Linked DNA regions of Homo sapiens: region 2 is linked to region 1. Evidence: promoter capture Hi-C in 16 types of primary human blood cells and fetal thymus (Javierre and others, 2016). All regions are on one chromosome and are shown on one strand. Each heading gives the region's core, a stretch centred on a gene start or on the middle of the fragment in contact. The rest is flanking DNA. Distances are from core to core; before and after follow the strand shown.

Region 1 (5,307 bases), core at 1,973-4,472:
AAACACACCTTAGTTTAAATACTAATTCTATCTCTTGTGAACTAATTGAGCAGGTTACTTAAATTCTCTAAGCCTATTTCCTCCTCACCTATAAATGGAGATAATACTACCCAACTGACAGGGTTATTTAAGAGATCAGTGATGATAATGTATAAATTAACAGATTTATACAATTGTACATATTATAAAGTAATAATATTGTATAATTGGCTATATTGACATATAGTTGCTCAATAAATGGTAATTATTACTTTTCAAATAGAGCTGACTGAACAACAAAAATCACTAAATAGTCATAAAGGACACTCTACGGTCAATTTTGATCCTAATGACTAAACTACATAGAGGTCAAAACAGCTAATAAATCTAAAACAATCCACTTTTGCTTTTTAAATACTTACACTTATTTTTGCAGCAAACTAACTAAATCCAGGTGAAGGCTATGCATAATGGAAACAAAAGTTTGGCTATGTTCAAACCAATCTTTTAAAAGTAAGTTATTTCCCAATACATTAATAATTTAAGAACATGTTACAGTCCCCACAACAATTAACAGAATGTACCCTGAGGTCCACCTCTATCTTGCTGTTATATACCCAGTGTCAATACAGTGTCTGGCACATACTAGGTACCTAGAAAATATTTATTTGCGGTCTACATACACTCACTTAATATTACTCCAGAGTAGTGATCCAATACTAGAAAAACAACCCAAAGTAATAAAGGAGCATATTTGAAAAGTAGTTTTAATAGACAATTCATCAGAAATTTCTTAGTCTCTAAAAAGGCCTTATTAAACCACTAGCATGAGACCACTGTGTAAAGATAAGTCAAAATCAGAGCATTACTTGAAGAAAAGTTCATCAGTTGGTAGATAAGGAGGAATATCAGACAAAATGAAAGTCACCAGTGACAACTTTCAAAGAGCTAATAAGAGGGGCTACAACTCTACAAATAAAAACAAAGATATATATTCATAATAAATTGAATGAGGAAAGATTTAAAATAACCAAGGGATCCTAAATATTTTCCAAGTCTGTTCACTCTTATCATCCACCTAAGAATAGGATTTGCTCTAGTTGATCAGATTCAGTTTACTTTTACTGATTTTTTATTCTTTTCCGCCCCCCCCCCCCCAATTATGTCACCCAGGCTGGAGGGCAATGGCGCAATCTTGGCTCACTGCAACCTCCACTTCGTGGGCTCAAGCCATCCTCCCATCTCAGCCTCCCGAGTAGCTGGGACTACAGGTACATACCACCCCACCCGGCTTTCTTTTTTTTTTTTGAGACTGAGTCCCGCTCTATTGCCCAGGCTGGAGTGCACTGGTGCCATCTTGGCTCACTGCAATCTCCACTTCCCCGGTTGAAGCAATTCTCCTGCCTCAGCCTCTGAGTAGCTGGGATTACAGGCGCCTGCCACCATGCCCGGCTAATTTTTGTATTTTTAGTAGATATGGGGTTTTGCCAGGTTGTCCAGGCTGGTCTCGAACTCCTTACCTCAAGTGATCCGCCCACCTCGGCCTCCCACAGTGCTGGGATTACAGGCGTGAGCCACCGTGCCCAGCCTTTTACCGGTTTTCGATTGTGTGCTATGCACCGTAGAAAGCATATGAAAAATAGAGGAGCTTCGAACTGATGCAGAAGGAAGTCACGTGCACTTAGCTACTACATAATACATATCTGGAACCAATACAAGAACCTGATCCAATGTCCACTCTAGTCCTCTTTTCCTCTGTGCACCTTCTACGAGTTTGGTTATAGACTTAAGCACCCTTCCATTTTCAAAATTTAAGTACCCACAACTTGAATTCTCAAGTTATTTTATCTTTCTTCTCTTAAAAAAAAATGTTAAGGGGTTAGTTTTCAGAATCTTCAATTTTACTAGATACGGTATGCACAATGTTAAAGACAAGCTCCAATAAAAATTTATGTATACCTTTAAAAGGTTTGTGAAACATTTAAAAAATTTTTAAAAACACAAATTCTTCTTGGAACAATGAAGATAACGAACATCTGTGGTTCCCTAAATGAGCCGTAATTTTAAGATGGGCAGCAACTAAAGGGCTTCAGCTTTGCCAAAACGTCAAGAGGCTGCCTTGCAGTGGGCTCGCAGTGATTTTAAAATGTTATTCTTCTCGTCTCGATTTATGTTTTTCTCCCTCTCAAAGTTAAACTTAAATGTCGTTGGAAACGTAATTTGGTAACATTCTGATGTCATTTCCTTCCGTTTTTAAATTTGTAACGAAATAAAAATATTTGTTCGTTCTCAAAATGAAGGTCTTCCACACACAAAAATTAAGCATGGAGTGCAATAAGGTCAATCGAATAAAGCTGCATCCGACCTTTTAAAATATGGAATAACATTTTTCCCTTCTCCAGAACTCTTGACTACTGACACAGGACAATGCCTGAAGTATGAAGCACAGACACGGAAACACCGGATGCGAAAGACTGGAGACCGAGACAGCAAAGGGAGGTGGAGCGGAGTGCTGATCTCGGTTCCTCCAAAACTCGTACTGTGAATCTGTGACACGGGACAATGAAATGTGAGCAAGGACAAGCTTACACAGCATCATAATGTTAATTTGAAGACGGTTTTCCGGTTGATGAGGCAACGAAAGGCTGAAAGACTCCAAAGTTAAAGGAGCCCCAATTTTGCCCGAGAAAACGTAGAGCTAGGAGGGCGGTGACCAGTTTTCCCAGACTTATCTCTACGCACTCCAAGATGCTGAAAGTGGGACCCCTGCTCCTGTAGGTACAGGAGGCCTCTGCACCCCGCTTGGCCCAAGCTAACCCTGCCCTCCCAGACCAGGCCTGGCCAGACCCTCCCGCCCCGGGCCGGGTCTCCGCCGGGCCGGCTCCCAGCCCCAGTCAGGCCAGCAGAGCCTTCGTCTCCTCCTGCCTCAGCCGGGTCAGAGCAGGGCCCCTGAAGACTGGCGATCCCGCGCCCGACTACCTTGGTCGTCCGGATATGCTCCATCGCAAGGAGACGTCAGCCGGCAGCCGGTCTCACAGGCGTACCATACGGCTACAGAAACAGGGCGGTGACAGCGACAGAGAGCAAGCGGGAACTCCCTCCACCAGCCAGCGCCGCGGGTCTGTCTGCCGGCCCCGGTGGCGTCAACGGCGCAGGTGCAGCCGGTGAGCGCCGTCTCCTAGAAACACTTCCCCAAACCCCGCGGCCTCCCGGGGGACTCGGGGCAGGCAGACAGAGCGTGTGTGGACCGAGAGCGGCTTGCTGGTTCGTCCCGGACAGCGGCGGATCCCACAGCGCCCCCTGCTGGAGGAGGCCGGTACTGCTCACCACCCCACCCGAGGCGGTCTTTGTCATCCCGCCGAGCGGACGCGCGGGGCGGTCGGGGAGGAAGACTGCGTGAGAATGGATCCCGAGTAAAGGGTTCTTGTGGGGTGAGGGCAAGAGTGGAGGATGTTCTGAAGTCCATCGCCATACCACTGGACAGCACCAAATTTAGTTTGAGCTGCAGTTCTACTCATAAGAATGTATTCTAAGGAAATAATCAGATTTGGAGTTATTATTCTAAGGAAATAACCAAATAAGGAAACCAGCCTTATTTGAAACAATCAACTCTCCAATCCTACGGATTCCTTATGTAAAGTATGATGATTAGCTAGTCCTCAATCTGGTCTGGTGTCAGAGTCCCGCCTCCTACCTCAATTTCATACGATGTTAGCACCAGCATCCATTAAAACTCATCCTGTAGAGGGATATCACATAACGAAAATGTTAATGCTGCATTACTGAGTGAAGAAAAAACTGACTATGGAACAATAAGTTCAATGTAGCCGTGCTCTGTAATTTTTATTTATGTAAACAAAAAGTTTACATTTCTAGGTGAGGGTTACAGGTAATTTTTGTTAGAACACGTCTAATGTGGTACTTCTCAGCCTGGAGTGAGTTTTCTCCCCGGGGGACATTTGGTAACATCTGGAGATATTTTTGGTTGTCTCAAATGGTGGTGGTGGGGGGGTGGCGGCGGGGGGCAACTGGTGGGTGGAGGCCAAGTCACAAGTCGGCTGCTGAACACCCTACTAGGCACCAGACCAACCCCCCAACTACAGGGAATTATCCGGCAGATGACAACAGTGCAGAGGTTGAGAAACCCTGCTCTATGCCAGGCGCGGTGGTTCACGCCTGTAATCCCAGAACTTTGGGAGGCTGAGGCGGGCGGATCACTTGAGGTCAGGAGTTAGAGTCCGAGAAACTCTGCTCTACGTTTTGTAAGTATTCTGTACTAAGCCGGTTAAGGTTTGTAATCTTCATCTTTCATACTGTGATTGGTGTTAGAAAAGCCTAACATCTAAATTTTCTTTTATAATTAAAAATTTTGTTTCACTTATTTGTTTCATTTTGTTCAAGTTGTCTTGGTTTGTTTTGTTTTGAGTGCCTACGATGTTTCAGACAGATTGCCAAAGCAATGGAGATGGTTATTAAACACAACAGCCTTTGCGGTGGAGTTGCTGACTCCTCTAAGCTAAATATGTAATAAGAGTTACATTAAACCACCTAGAAACCAACCTTAGTACAGTATCACATCCACCCCCTCCCCCCGAAAAAAAACCCCACAAATCCTGCTCAGAAAAAAAAAAAAATATATATATATATATATATACACATATATATATATATATATATACATATATATATATATACACATATATATATATATAGAGAGAGAGAAAAGTAATGTAGGTCTTTACTGAGGATTGCTTTTTGAGAAAACAGAAAGAGGTGAATTGTATAGCATACAGCAAGACTTTCTTAACAAAACTTTTTATATCATTTTCCTCCCAATTTACAACTTCCTCCTTCCCCATTCCCCTACAGATTATCCTCCCTCTTCTCATCTCCTCACTTCCTGTGTCCTCTCTTTACCAATTCTCACAGAGAGGCAATCATAATGATGTCAGGTGACCAAATGTACTGAGTGCTTTACGGGTATTCTGAGGAAAATGCTATTGCTTTCTTTATTTTAGAGATGAGACAAGCGAGACACAATGAAGTGAAGTAACTTGCCCAATATCACATAGCAGATAAAGCCAAGATCCATGTTATAAAGCCAGACAGGCTGACTTCAGAGTCTGTATTCTTAACAACTGTTTTACATTGATTTGCTTCTCAAAATCCATATTAAAGTTCTATTTATGTTAATATGATAGGCTAGAAAATTACCTAGCTTTACAGAAAGAAAGTAAAATAACAGATAAAATATTAAATGACGTTTCTTTGACTCTTGAGTTGAATACTCTTGCACTAGATAGAATATTCCTTATGGTTAAATCTGGC
Region 2 (5,307 bases), core at 789-3,288, 3.6 Mb before region 1:
AAATCTTCCCCAATGGTACTATCCAGGGAACCAGGAAAGACCACAGCCGATTTGGTAGGTATACCATTAACCCTTTAGTGTCCATGAGATGACATGTTGAAATTATAACTACCAAGAAGGTGGTGGCCGGGTGGGGGACGTGGGAAGGGTTCTCCCCTCCTCCCCTCTTTCTCTGTATCTCTGTCTCTCTCTCTCTCTGTCTTGCCAGCTCCGAAAAAAAAATGCCTCCGGAATTGCAGATCTGCTGCTGGCACTGATGCAAGTATACACTGAAAGGCCCCCTACTTTTAATTTAAAGGGGGGCATAATTTATAAATATAATACAAGTTTCCAGTTCTTTTGCATCAGATACACGGGTTTAGGAAGTTTCTTTTGAATGGACTGATTGCACGAGTTTAAAGCTTTAATCATTAACTACTAAGAACTTAATGCAGTTTCTTGAAGGCAGTGGGTATCTTGTGCCCAAATTAAGGTTTTTTTCCTTTCCCCCTTTCCTCTAGTAAGTATACTACTTGAATTGTATATTAAGTGCATTGTTTATTCTCCCCTGTGAGGGTCTGAAAGCCCCATAGGCGAAGGTTGCTGACGGATTGTCCTGTTGGGAGGACTAAAGTCATATTTTAGGCTCCGTGAAAAGCAGGGGCAGAGGCTTGGGGGAAAATGACTTGGGAAGAGGCAGGGCGCTCAGGGGTTTTTGTCCTTCCAGCTATCAAGTGATAACCTCTGCTTTTAAATTTCCATAGTGTGCAGCCCTGTGTAGGTCTCCTGCGTGGCTCTCTGGTGTGAGTGTGTGCGCGCGTGCAAACGCTGCGAGCGAATTTTAAAGGGCATTCCGAGGATTTCATTTTTCAGCGGAGGGTATTTGTGACTCAGCACTGAGGGCTGCAGACTCGAGGGCTGGTGGCTCTGCCCACTTTATGCTTGCACACACGTGCTTGCCGGGGCACCCTGAGCCCAACGGCACGAAGTCAACTAACACAGTCCCAATTGGGTGGACTCTTGAGTTTTTTCCTTACTTAAAAAAAAAAAAATAAGCGCCAGTTTGGGCAACTAGACTGTTGGAAGGAGTTAACTTCTGAGTGAACCCACCTGACAACACTTAAACTAGGTCGTAAAAAACAAAGTCCTCTGGTGATTTTTCTTCCTCATGCTTTAGTGCCAGATGTTGAACACAATCTAAACTGTATGTTTAGCTTCGTGCGGCTGCGGATGATGCCAGAAGGTGAGGAGGACTTAGGCCTGGGCTGGGGATGGTCCCAGATCCACGAGGCCCAGGATTTGCTCCTCATGCTCACCCCTGAGCCTAAGCCCACAGCTGAGCCTAGTAGTGTGAAATTGCTCCGGCCGTCTCCACTCGCTGCTTAAAAAAAAGTTATAGCTCTTTGCTTTGCAATTATTCAGTTGAAATATAACTATCCCCTCCCCACCCCAGAAGTAAAGGTAGATTCTGGTTGTTGCAAAGAGAAGACTAAACTTTACTAAAAGTGCCGTTTCCATCTGGCCTCTTTAAGGGCTGCCACCCTGCCTAGCGTTCGATACCAGAACAACAGGCAGTGGGCGGCCCTGGGTGGGCGAGCGAGCGTGTCCGGGGCCGCGGCGGCCACCCGCAGGGTGTCGGGGCCGCGCCGACCGAAGCGAGCGGCGTGGGCGGCCGGCCTAGGTGTGCCAGGCGGCCGGAGCTCCAGCCCTCCCGCGCTCGCGGTCGGCAGGTGCCCGCTCGGCCGCCCGGGCCCCGCGGCGCACTTAGCGGCTGCCCGGCCGGCTCCGCGCGGTCCTAAACGCGCTCGCGTTCCGGCTCCCTTTCCGCCTGGCTCGGGTGCGCCCTTCAGTGCTGCGGGGACCACGGGGGCCGGGGGGCGGCAGGCAGGGGCTGACACACTTCTGGCCGCGTTTAGGGAATCCGGTTTTTCATTTTGGCCCAAGTTGAGCCCCTTCGCTTTCTCTTTGTGTGTGAGAGTGGGTCTGGCGGGGCTGACAGCCGCCGCCCTGGGCTGCACGGTGGTTTGCGGTGTGGGAACGGCTGGAGGCGCGCGCAGCGGCAGGAGAGTTGGTGGCGGGGACAGAGGACGGGCTGGAGGTCGGACCCCTGAGCTCCCCTGTCCCATTCCGTGTCCTTCTTCTGAAGCACGCAGCCGGGTTTTGGAGACTCGAAGGGCTCCGTGGTGCCCGGGAGGTGGGTCGGGGGCCCCTGGCCGGAGCCGCAGGGAAAGGAGTGGGGGTGGGGGGGACAAAGGGCCGCGGAGGCGGGCGGAGGGGGCGGCGTGCTATTGTTAACCGCTTTCCGAGAGCAGAGCTCGCGAGCTCGCCGATCGCGATCTGGCTTTCCCGCGCCCCCGCCTCCGCTCCGGCTTCACAACCGGGGGAGCCCGGGGTGTGCGCGGGAGCGCGGCGGGGGCGCACGGCTGCAGGGGCGCCGCGGCGGGCCCGAGCCGGTTTTATTGTGTGGATCAGCCGAGCCTGTCTTTGAGAGACCCTATTAGAACTCCGGTGCAGCACGACTGGGCCCTGGTGTGCAGAGATTATGGGATATTCTAGTTGGCGCTTCTTCACGCACCCCTTCCCTCCATGAGCATTTTTTTTTTTTGATGCAGTCACCTTTAGGATAGGACGTTTGCCACATGCAGTCGAGTCATTAGAAATCCCGTAACTCTGCCACTGGAGAGAGCGCGGATGCAAGGGCGGGGGCCACGCGGGAGGGGAGGGCAGGAGAGGCGCATTCTAGGGTGAGCGGATGAGGACAGCGGCGGGCTACAGTGGCTCAATAGAAACCGTTAAACAAAAAGCTAGACCCCTCACCCCTAGAGGTCAGAGAAAGGTGTTGTCAGGGAAGTGGCATCTCCACTCCTTAGACGCTCTCGGTACAGTGTTGCGGGGGATGTGGGGGCTGGGGGGGATGTGGGGGCTGGGGGGAGGGGCTAGGGGTAGTGTTGGATGGGAGGGGAGCGGAAGCCCCGGCCCAGGTTGGGGACTGGGGGCGCCGAGCCGCTAGCTAGCCCGTCGGCCTGGCGTCGGCCGAGGGGGAAGGGCGCTCTGGCGCTCCGCTGTGCCACTCACTCTGGCTGGGATGGAGTTGAGTGGGTGGCTGTGCGCAGTGGGGGTGGGGAAGCAGGGTGAGGCAGGAGGGTTATTTAAGTCTTTCATCCGGTTGCAGTGAGAAGCGGGCCCCCGGGGTGACAGCAGTGCCGCGGTCTCCCGCTGCTGCCGCTGCGGCAGGTCCCAATATTAGCAACCTCCGCAGAGCGGTGGTGCGTGTGCCGGGAGCCTCCTACCCTCGCCTTCCCAGCCCCGCCCGGAACGAGGCCGCGGCGGCGCTAGGACACCGCGGCTCGCGCGGGGAGGGCGGAGGGAGGGCACAGGCGCCGGGAGGGGGCGAGGGGGCTGCGGTGCCCCGGCTCTGGCACACCTGGCGCTCCCGCGCGCCGCCGCGGCCTCACCTTCGGCCCTCCTCCTCCTCCGGCAGCAGCCTCTCCTCCGCAGCCCGGCTCCCCTCTGGGGAGTTCGTCCTCACACTCAGTTTCTCTAGAAAAGAGTAACTGTAGGTGGGGGGTGCGGTGGGTTTACACCTTGATTAAAATAGAAGGTGCATTTTCTACCTGAAATCAAACAGCAGAAGGAAACGCGCTGGAAAAAGGATTTTTGCCGCCCCCATGCAGCCGCAGGTGACTGCAGCTGCTGGCAAGCTTGGCAGTGACACAGCAGCAGCAGTGCAGAGGACGTGGGGGTGGGGGAGTCTTACTGTTCCAGCAGGAGCTGCAGAGGTGACAACTTAGGTGGGACCTTGAAGGAGCCTTTTTTTTTTTTTTTCCCCCTCGGATTGGTGGTGTGGAGATAAGATTGAACAAGGAGAAAAGGAACTCGCAATTGTATCTCTGTGCAGTAGGCTGGGGGAGCGAGATGTCTTGTTTCATCTGTATATCTATATGCCTATATATAGAGCTCACTTTTAAAGCACTCCAGCCTTGCTAGATGGATAGAAATGTGAGCAGAAAATCATTTGGGGAAATAGTAATGTAAAATAATAAAAACATGAACGCTGGGCCTGATCTGCTATTTAACTTGTTTAGGAAACCTAAGTCTGTTCCCTTTTTGGCTGGGGTTAGGTAGCTCTGAAAGGCCGGTCTTCATCAGGACCTCAGATGAGCACCCAAACTGGGGCTTCCATTCAAATTGGGTCAGGTGAAGGTTTTACTAGAGGGGAGAAATATGATAGTATGATTTTTTTAAACAGGTGTTTAAAACTTATTTCCAGGGTTTTGAACTTTAATTCTGTTCTATGTATCTGACTCTTCAATGTCTCAGGAAAACACTGGGTGTTTAAGGAGATGGTTTTAGGATTGCTTCAGGTTCTGGAAAAATTAGTGGAGTTATAACTCCCATTCAGTTAGTCATTTCCTATATAAACTCTATGAGATGTGCTCAGGTTGCTACAGATCCGAACTTACCCCGGTGCAGGATCTGAGATGGTTGATCTGGCAGCCCTGGTTCGAGCTTCTCTGGGTGAGCAGGAAGCTCTGCAGGGAAGAGGCTTAATCATTAATTTTCTGCAGCCTCATGCCCTGCCCCTCTCGACAGTCTGCCTACATTTGTGTGGTCTGAAGAGTGCGGTTCTGTAATGCGTTGGGGGCTCTTAAGCCAGAGAACCATGTCATGAGGGCCAGAGTGGAGCAGCTCTGACTGCCTTCCTCTCCCACTGCCTTGCCTGGCCTTGGAGGTGAGGCCCAGCACAGATGGGCTCTAGGGGGCGGTGCCAGCTTTGGGATAATGGTCCATGTGAACAGAACTGGGGCAGCCCATCAGCTCTGGGGATAGTCACTAATAGTGAGTCTGGGGCAATGAGGAAGGTCCGGTGTGGTGATTTTCCTGAAATAGTCCAGGCATTGACCTGGTCTCTCATGGACCATGGATGATCTCACACCTCATCAAATCCAATGGGGTCCCAATGAGCATATCCTCATTTGGAACTGTTGACTGCTGTGGAAGAGAACAAAGAAATGACAGCAGTCATCGACCCTGTGCTTCCCATGTCACCCTATCACTACCCATTACTGTGGGCCGTCTGAGCTAAGGATGTCAAGGCTGTGTCTGCCCAAAATGAGCGACAGGCTGCCATGGTACACATGTGTGTGCCACAGTTCTAATTTTAGGCACAAACTCATCATTCCCTCCCTTCCTCCTCCCCTCTTCCTTCCTTCTTTTCTTTGCTCTTTCCTTCTTTCCCTTTCTCTCTCCTTGATCATTAAACATTCAGATGTCTCTGCACAGAAGGCTTCTCCTGGCTGTTATTGATCCAGCCCCCTCTGCTGCCCA

The links. The method cuts DNA at HindIII sites, captures the fragments that hold promoters and counts their contacts. A CHiCAGO score of 5 or more calls a contact.
Region 2: a fragment that was not itself captured here is called in contact with the fragment with the promoter of MTMR6 in region 1 in 1 of 17 cell types (fetal thymus); the score reaches 6.0 in fetal thymus.

What each region holds. Positions count from the first base shown.
Region 1 is chr13:25,284,266-25,289,572 of GRCh38, forward strand. MTMR6 (myotubularin related protein 6) reads right to left here and starts at 3,223. Exons shown (of 14, transcript NM_004685.5): 1 at 2,959-3,223. The coding sequence starts at 2,982. RefSeq lists enhancers at 2,603-3,223, 2,927-3,266, 3,367-3,536. The HindIII fragment of the contact is 4,901 bases long and covers 2,562-5,307 here.
Region 2 is chr13:21,672,136-21,677,442 of GRCh38, forward strand. It overlaps FGF9 (fibroblast growth factor 9), which reads left to right. Exons shown (of 3, transcript NM_002010.3): 1 at 1-54. Among named protein-coding and RNA genes, the nearest start is that of FGF9, 3.7 kb to the left of the region's middle. RefSeq lists silencers at 1,532-1,751, 1,772-1,901, 3,312-3,361. The HindIII fragment of the contact is 3,279 bases long and covers 400-3,678 here.